3 separate regions of the Homo sapiens genome follow, and all the other regions are linked to region 2. The links are contacts of gene promoters, found by promoter capture Hi-C in human tissues and cell types (Jung and others, 2019). All regions are on one chromosome and are shown on one strand. The core of a region is centred on a gene start or on the middle of the fragment in contact, and the rest is flanking DNA. Distances in the headings are between cores, read along the strand shown. Region 1 has its middle 35 kb from the start of DEGS2. Region 2 holds the start of CYP46A1 (cytochrome P450 family 46 subfamily A member 1). Region 3 overlaps LOC124903379 (a long non-coding RNA gene).

The links. Contacts are between HindIII fragments. The study calls those that stand out against the background at their distance.
Region 1: a contact is called between a fragment that was not itself captured here and the fragment with the promoter of CYP46A1 in region 2, in 1 of the 25 tissues and cell types used here (lymphoblastoid cells).
Region 3: a contact is called between a fragment that was not itself captured here and the fragment with the promoter of CYP46A1 in region 2, in 2 of the 25 tissues and cell types used here (IMR-90 fibroblasts and lymphoblastoid cells).

What each region holds. Positions count from the first base shown.
Region 1 is chr14:100,193,131-100,195,830 of GRCh38, reverse strand. No RefSeq gene overlaps it. Among named protein-coding and RNA genes, the nearest start is that of DEGS2, 35 kb to the right of the region's middle. RefSeq lists silencers at 1,970-2,059, 2,650-2,700. The HindIII fragment of the contact is 8,266 bases long and covers 1-2,700 here.
Region 2 is chr14:99,682,911-99,685,610 of GRCh38, reverse strand. It overlaps CYP46A1 (cytochrome P450 family 46 subfamily A member 1), which reads right to left and starts at 1,313. Exons shown (of 15, transcript NM_006668.2): 1 at 1,075-1,313. The coding sequence starts at 1,193. RefSeq lists a silencer at 929-1,508. The HindIII fragment of the contact is 8,159 bases long and covers 1-2,700 here.
Region 3 is chr14:100,046,962-100,049,661 of GRCh38, reverse strand. LOC124903379 (a long non-coding RNA gene) reads left to right here. Exons shown (of 2, transcript XR_007064329.1): 2 at 1-2,700. It also overlaps a transcript of EVL not described here. Among named protein-coding and RNA genes, the nearest start is that of EVL, 17 kb to the left of the region's middle. The HindIII fragment of the contact is 6,293 bases long and covers 1-2,700 here.

The DNA of each region.
Region 1 (2,700 bases), core at 1-2,500, 510 kb before region 2:
CAGGAGGTCATTTCATCCTCACACTGGCCCAAGGAGAGCATACAGGTTACAGATCAGAGTCTAAGAGGTGGTAGACGAGGCAAGGAAACGTGTAGGTACTTGAAGGCTTTTTTTTTTTCTTTTTTTTGAGATGCAGTCTTGCTCTGTTGCCCAGGCTGGAGTGCAGTGGTATGATCTCGGCTCACTGCAGCCTCTGCTTCCTGGGTTCAAGTGATTCCCTTGCCTCAGCCTCCCAAGTAGCTGGGATTACAGGAGCCTGCCACGATGCCCAGCTAATTTTTTTTTTTTTTTTTAGATGGAGTTTCACTCTTGTTGCCCAGGCTGGAGTGCAATGGCGTGATCTCTGGCTCACCGCAACCTCCGCCTCACCGCAACCTCTGCCTCCCAGGTTCAAGCCATTCTCCTGCCTCAGCCTCCCAAGTAGCTGGGATTACAGGCATGTGCCACCACACCCGGCTAATTTTTTTTGTATTTTTAGTAGAGATGGGGTTTCTCCATGTTGGTCAGGGTGGTCTCGAACTCCCAACCTCAGGTGATCCGCCCGCCTCGGCCTCCCAGAGTGCTGGGATTACAGGCCTGAGCCACTGCGCCCAGCATGCCCAGCTAATTTTTTTTGTATTTTTAGTAGAGACAGGGTTTCACCATGTTGGCCAGGCTCATTTCGAACTCCTGACCTCAAGTGATCCACCCGCCTTGGCCTCCCAAAGTGCTAGGATTACAGGTGTGAGCCTGGCCTATGTGAAGGTTTATTTAAGCCCTCACCTCTCAGTGGTAGGCAGTGATTAGATAATACCTCAATGTGAAAAAATCAGTAACCATTAGTACTGTGTAAACCTGTCACTTCCACATATGGAGGTGAGAACCTGAAGAAACATCTAGAGGAGTACAAAGTGGCTGCCTCTTTGGGGAGGACCCAGGGTGGGCAAAGCAAGGCAAGGGACTGCCTTTTTTCATTGTAAGCCTTGTAGTTCTATTTGTCTGTTAAAAATATGTACGTGTTATTAATTTTATTGAAAAGAAAAGCTAAAGCAAAAAAGAAAAAAGGAAGAAAATGAAGGATCAAAGAGGTGAAGTAATTCGCCCAAGGTAACACAGGATTCAGAACTAAGTGTGTCTGAGTTCATATTTGGGATAGCCACAACCCTGCAGCCTTGCCCAGCCCTTGGCCTGATGCTGGAGTTGGGGTCTATGGGACCAGCCTCCAACCTTGAAGACAGATCACCTTCTGCTATGAAATGTTGCTGAAGTGAGAGCCTGTTGGAGACGTTCACCTGATGAGCCTTGATGAAACAGAAAGGACTTTTCACATGTCTGACCTTGCAGGCTGGTTTGTGGGGATTCAGTGTCCACCAAAGCCCCAGCCCAGTGCCAGCAAATCAGTAGAGTGTTGTCTAAGTCAGCGGCATTGTTTTGCGAGCCCATGGATGAGCTGTTCTCCAAGGTCAGCCACAAATGTGTCAGAATTCAAACCCAGGGCCTGGGGTTGAATTCAGGTCTCAGTAGCTGATGATCCTCAGCACAAATGGTGGGGCCAGTGCTGAGAAGTACATGGAGTCTGGAAAGTAAGGCCTGGTCTTGGCAATGTGGTGGAGGTGGGGCTGGATGGACCCTGGAGAGAGCAGCATGTGAAAGGCCCAGATGCATGGCCTGGGAGCTGACATGGGTCAGTGTAGCTGGAGAATAGAGCACAGGGTGGGAGAACCAGGAGGTTGCAGCCAGAGATGGGCAGAGGTGGAAGCAGGGCTTTGAAGGGCCTTGCAGGTTGCCATTGGCCCTGATGTCAGGGTAGCAGTGAAGGCCTGTGGCCATCACAAATGCCTGTCTATGCTCACCTTTCCCCTCCGCTTGCCTTCCCACCCCCACCCCCACCCCCGCCCCCGCAGGCGCTGACTCTCCCTTCCAGGGCCCTGCCCATCAGTTTTCACCAGCAGAGCTTCAGGCGCAAGGCTGCCTGGTATGAGGGTGCCCTCAGCTCCCCAGGCCTGTCCCCAAACAGTCCAGCTGGGGGACCCAGACAGTCATTCAGCCTCTAGGGGCCTCCACTGACTCCCCAGGAACAAAAGAGCCTTTGTGCCTCCCTCCCAGGGCTGCCATGGGCCTGAACATCAAGTAGCCTCTAAAGTACCTGGCAGGGGGCCTGGTACTCAGATGATGCCCAGGGATGTTACTTCCTAGCTATCGTCCCGCTCCTTGGTTTATATTAACACACAGGTATTAACGTGCCTTCTGTGAGCCACTCCTGCTTACTGGGGAGATACAGAGATGAAAAGTCAGTGGGTGTAGACAAGCAGATGGCAGCCCAGTGTGGGGTGGTCGGTGCCAGTAGGAGGAAGATGCACAGGGTATGAAGAAGCCCCAGAAGGCCCTTAACCCAACCCCAGCCGGGATTGCAAAGAACAGTCGGAGCAAGCGAGGGGGAGAGGAAGGGGGGAAAGGTCGTTCTGAGCAGAGGGCACAGCCTGGGTGAGTCTAGGCCGGCAAGGAGCACGTGGCAGGCCAGGGGGCCTGGCGGGAGGTCTGGCAAAGATTTGTGCCTTTATCCCCAAAAAGCCACTCCGGGGTGTGAAACACCGCCGCTAGGTGGAGAAGGGAGGCGAGAGCAGCGGCTCCAAGGCACCTGGGCGAAAGAGCGGAAGCGGCGCCGCTCAGGTCTCCGGCCCCGCCCTCTGGCCGAGGTGTCAGGCCTGACGCCCCGCCCAC
Region 2 (2,700 bases), core at 64-2,563:
CAAATATTTATTGAGATCTGCAACACGCCAGGCACTGGGGATACACAAGCGAACACAGAGTGTCCCTGTCCTCCCGGGGCTCACATTCTAGAGGGGGAGACAGTCAACAGGTGAACAGACAGTCAACAGGTGGAAAGAAGGTAACCTCAGAGGTGATGGCCCCTGAGAAGTCTGGGGCTGGGTGGTCTTTACACAAGGTGCTGGGCAAGGCCTGTTTGAGACAAGCAGAGGAAGAAGCCCGCCAGGCCCAGGCTTGAGAAAAGGACCCGGGGGGAGGGAAGCTGCGGGGGGGGCGGGGGGAGGGGGAGGCTGGGAGAAGAAAGGCTGGGGGCAGTAGTGAGAAAGCAAGAGGAAAGAGCAAGCTGCAGAGTGGGTTCTGAGTGCTCGGCAGGGGCCTCGCGGGCCATGCAGCCGACTTAATTTAGAACTGCATTTAGTTGTCAAGTGATGGGAAGCCCTTGGAGCAGGGAAATGACACATTTAATTTAAGCTTCACAAAGCTAAGCTGGGGGTGGGGGGGGGTTGGCAAGTTGAGGGGGGTGTAAGTTGCGTGGGGGTGGGGACCAAGAATGCAATTGTAAGTACTAAGGAGAAGACAAATGGGGTGTCCCAGAACAGAAATACAAGCAAAAGGAAACATGACTGAAGTACAGCGTGCTCCAATCCAGGCTGACCCTGTCCAAGTCCCAAAGTTAACAGCGCCCACTTTGGAGGCAGGCTGACCTGGGCTTAAATCTAGGCTTACCAACCGTGTGACCTTGGGCAGGTGACTTCGCCTCTGAGCGCCTCAGTCTCCTCGTCTGAACGATGGGTTAACAATAGCGCCTACCTGAAAGGGCTGTGGCTGCCATCACGTTTGTGGGGCCCAGCTGTGCGCGGTGGGCGCCCAGCAGCTGCTGCGGCTGTGAGTAATTTGTTACTAAGAATAGTTAGCGCCCCTCTCGGGGCCGCCGACTCCCAGCGGCCGCGCGCACTAGGCGAGGCCGGACCCCCGGCCTGGACGCCGGCTTAGACGCTGTCCCCAGGCCCCCAGTCCCAGCACCCCAGCCAGGCCCCGCCCCCAGCCCCGCTCACCTGGGCCGCGGCGGCCCGGGGATGTGCTCGTAGCGGCTGCGAGCGCGGTGCACGAAGGTGCAGCAGAGGCCGAAGGCGAGCAGGACGGCGCTGCCGAGCAGCAGCAGCCCGGGGCTCATGGCTCCGGGGCAGGGCAGGCCAGGCCAGGGTCGGGCCGGGCGCCGAGGGGGCCGGGAGGCCGCGAGCCGACTCAGCTGTCAGCGCCGCGCGCCGCCTCGGCCCCAGGCCAGGCGCGACCCAGCACCCTCCCCGCCCGCTCGGCTCCGCCCCCGCCGACTCCGACCCCTCCCAGGGCGCACAGTCCCCGCCAACCACGTCTCCGCCTCCGGCTCCGGCGCTCCGGGCCCTCCCCCGCCCCGCCCCGCCCCCCAGAGCTCCGCCCCAACCTCCACACCGCCCCAGCCCAGGCCCCACCCCGAGCATGTGGTCTTCACCAATCACAACTCCGCTTCTGGCTCAGCCCCCCAGGCTCCGCCCCCACCTCTTCAGACTCAGGTCCGCCCCAGCAGCAGCTCCGCCCAGAACGCGTTGTCCCTGGCAACGCCGATCCTCAGCGCTCTGGCCCGGCGGCGGCGCGAAGTCCTGCTGGCTGGCTCCGCCCGCTTCGGCGCCTCCAAATAACGGCATCTTTCCGCGCGCGGTCTTAGGCCCCTTCCTTTTTCCCCCAAACCTGCCCGGAAACCCCATCCCAGCCTGCAAAAGTCCGCATAACGCCGACTGTTCCCAAACTTCTCCTTGGAACCCCAGACCCCCAAAGTTGTTCTCCAGTTGCCCCGGGGCGCCTCCTCCGCCCGGACAGTCCACGCCTAGCGCCCGTGGTCCGCCAGCGGGGCCCGCGGGCTGGTGGCAGGATCCTGCGGGACCCAGGGACGCCTGTGTCTGCGACCGAGAGCGCACGGCGTGGCCGGAGGCTGTTCTCCCAGAGACTCGGGGGCCTGCGGACCCTCCTAGACCAGGCGAAGCCCCATCTGAGGCGCTGGCTCAGGCCCGAAGGAGTTGGAGTTGGAGGGATGAAAATCTGGGTCCGCCCTCCAGGGAAAGCGGGAAATGTGCCGGGGAGGCGGGGGTAGCGGAGGAGAAGGTATTTTCGAAATAATGACCAGGGCTTCCCCCTCTGTCGTAACCCGCGTCTCCTTGCCCATCCCGTATGAAGATGAGGCCAATTCTGGGCGTTTTAGTTCCCAATTCCTATCCCGAGGGACCACCCAGCGTGAAAGTCGTGGCAGGGGAAGGCCAGGTGTGCCCACTCCTAGCCCAGGTAAAGGTCCCCCGGGCTGGAGGTAGAGGCCCAGGGAGTGTAGATGCTGCTGGGTTTCTGAGAAGAGGCAATGCCCCTGCCCCACGCTTGAGCCAGTCCTGGAGAGGTTGGGGGTTGGAAAACGAAGGGGACCTTGGTACCGCCTTCCCAGGTATAGTTAGGGACATGGGACATGGCTGTTAGGGGTGTGGGCTGAGGGGCGACGGAGACGGCCAAGTCTTAAGAGCCGTGCCCAGCACGGAGGAGGCGGGACTTCTGCCCTCGGGGCCACCGCAGCCTGGACAGGTGGGCAGCAGAGCATCCATCCCCCCGGCGCCTGGCCCGGCCGCCCAGTTGGACTCGGGGATGTTGGCTTGCTATGGCGCCCC
Region 3 (2,700 bases), core at 20-2,519, 360 kb before region 2:
TATGGTATGTATATTATATCTCAATAAAGATATTGTTTAAAAATGCCCCAAATGCAGACTGAAAATATAAATGCTTCCAACTGGGTTATGAAGTAACAGGAGAATTTTGAGACTGTTGAAGAAAACCATCCCACATTCTGACTCACATCAGAAACAATACTCAGTATAAAGGACTGCATCCAGGGTGATAATTCTCAAGTTATTTCAGCTGTCCAGAGAGTACAATGACATAAAATGAAGCAAGGGCGCTGCTGACAAAAAAGGCCTCCCTAGAATACACAGTTGCAGTACATGTGCTCTTTGGCTTCCAGGCAATTCCTTGAACTTGAACTACACTCACACGCTTTGAGGCAAGCCTATGAACTTGACCTGAGAACTGTTTATTTCCCAAGCTATATGTTTCCAAACCTTCTGCTTCCTATCAATGATTTCCAATGGTTTTAAGGAACATTTAAAGAAAAATAGGACACATTAGCTAGATTTGGTTAATTACAAATCAAATAAATCCAAAGGAACATAATAATGCAAAACTACTTCACCACTTAAATTACTGGAGTTTTTGTTTCTCAGACCTTTTTGCTTGGTTTGGTTTTGCTTTTATTTCATTTCCATGAATGTAACACCTACATAGATTGGTGGTGTAACCACCACCACAATCAGAAGGCAGAAGAGTGCCATCACTCCCAAGCTCCCTCAGCTCTCCCTTTGTAGTCATATCCGCCCCCACCAATTCCCAGCAACCACTGATCTGTTCTCCATCTCAACAGTTTTGTCTTTAGGAAAATGTCATGTTAATAGAATCATACAACGTGTAACATTTTATGACTTAATAGGCCTCCTTTATTCAGTGTAATGCTTTGAGATTCATCCGAGCTGTTGTGTTAGTTAATAATTAGTGTTTTTTTTGTTTGTTTTTTTGCAGAGTAGTGTTCTGTTGTATGGACGTATTACAAGTTGTTTATCCATTTAATCAAAGGACATTTGGGCTGTTCACAGTTTTTGGCAATGGTCACGAACGTAAGCTTTCATTTCCATAGGCTGACTATGTAGGATTGCTGGGTTATATGTTAACTGTATGTAAAACTTTATAAGGAACTGCCAAACTGCTTTCCAGAGTAGCTGTGCCATTTTGTATTCCTTCTGGCAGTGTAGGAGAGTTGCTGCTCTGCACCCCCAAGGCACTGTCAGTATTTCATCTTAGTCACTCTAGTAAGTGCATATGATATCCTAATTTTAACCTACATTTCTCTAATGATTAATGATGTCATGCATCTTCTCTCGTGCTTATTTGCCATCTGTATATCCTCTTTGGTGAAGTGTCTGTCTTTTGCCCAGTTGAAAAAACTGGGTTACTTTCTTATAGTTAAGTTTTGAGAGTTCTTTATATATTCCAAAGACAAGCCCTTTGTATTTGTAAATATTTTCTCCAAGTCTGTCTCTCGTCTTTTCATTCTTATAAAAGTATCCTTCACAGAATAATAGTTTTTAATTCTGATGAAGTCAAAATTTATCTTTTTGATGAAATTTAATTTGATGAAGTCCAATTTATCCTTTTTCTTTTATGGATGGTGCTTTCGCTGTCATGTCTAAGAACCTCTTCCCTAAATCCCAGGTCATGAAGATTGTCTCAAGTTTTCTTCCACAAGTTTTATAGTTTTAGATTTTATATTCAGATTTATGAACCACTTTGAAGTAACTTTTGTATAACATGTGAGGATTAGGCCAAAATTCACTTCTTTTTGCATAAGGGTGTCCAATTGTTCCAGTACCATTTGCTGAAAAGGCTATACTTTCTCACTGAACGGACTTTTTACCTTTGTCAAACATCACTTGGCATTTTTGTCGGGACCTATTTCTGGACTTTCTACCCACGTGTCCAAGCTCTCTGTAGGGTAACTTGTAAAAACACCAGGCTAACTCACAATCTGAATAATGAACAGTGGTTGGGTACCTGGTTTATTCCGTGATATAGGTTGCAGAATGTGTAACCCAGGCTACACAAATGAAATATTTAGATCAGTTTTTGATATTACAATATAAGCAAGGCACTGCCAACCTGGAAGCATTCCTTGACGGCAACTAAGATAATAAGGCAAATAGAAATCATAACATCTGACAACTGGCTGAGGAAAGCAGGGCTGTCTGTCCCGGAGCAATGGAAAGAGAGTGTGAGCTCTGGCTCTGGACCTGTGCAACGGAGCTCAGTGGAAAGAACGGATCCTTCTGTGTGATCCCTAGGGAGACGATTCTGCCCAATGACTAGAACCAGGCTCTGTGCTTGGGTACAGGGAGTCCAGAGATAGATAGGCTATGCTTCCTGCTTTCAGAGGGGGAAGCTACAGGAAAACTATTTTGGTTTGCCATTGGCCATCTAGCCAATGGTAACTATAGCGCCCGTCTACTTTAGGTAAGAGACTGGATCAAAGGACTTGCAGGGCTCTGATTGTTTTCAGATTAAACCCAAGGACAGTTTCTGTCCTAGGTTTAACGGCTTCCTGAAGAAACTGGGGTCAGGTAAAAAAAAAAAAAAAAAAAAAAAAAAAGAGAGAGAGATCTGCCCAAGGTCTCAAAATATTGGCTGCAAAACTGAGTTTAGAAATCAACCCTCCTGCTGGGCGCGGTGGCTCACGCCTGTAATCCCAGCACTTTGGGAGGCCGAGGCGGGTGGATCATGAGGTCAGGAGATCAAGACCATCCTGG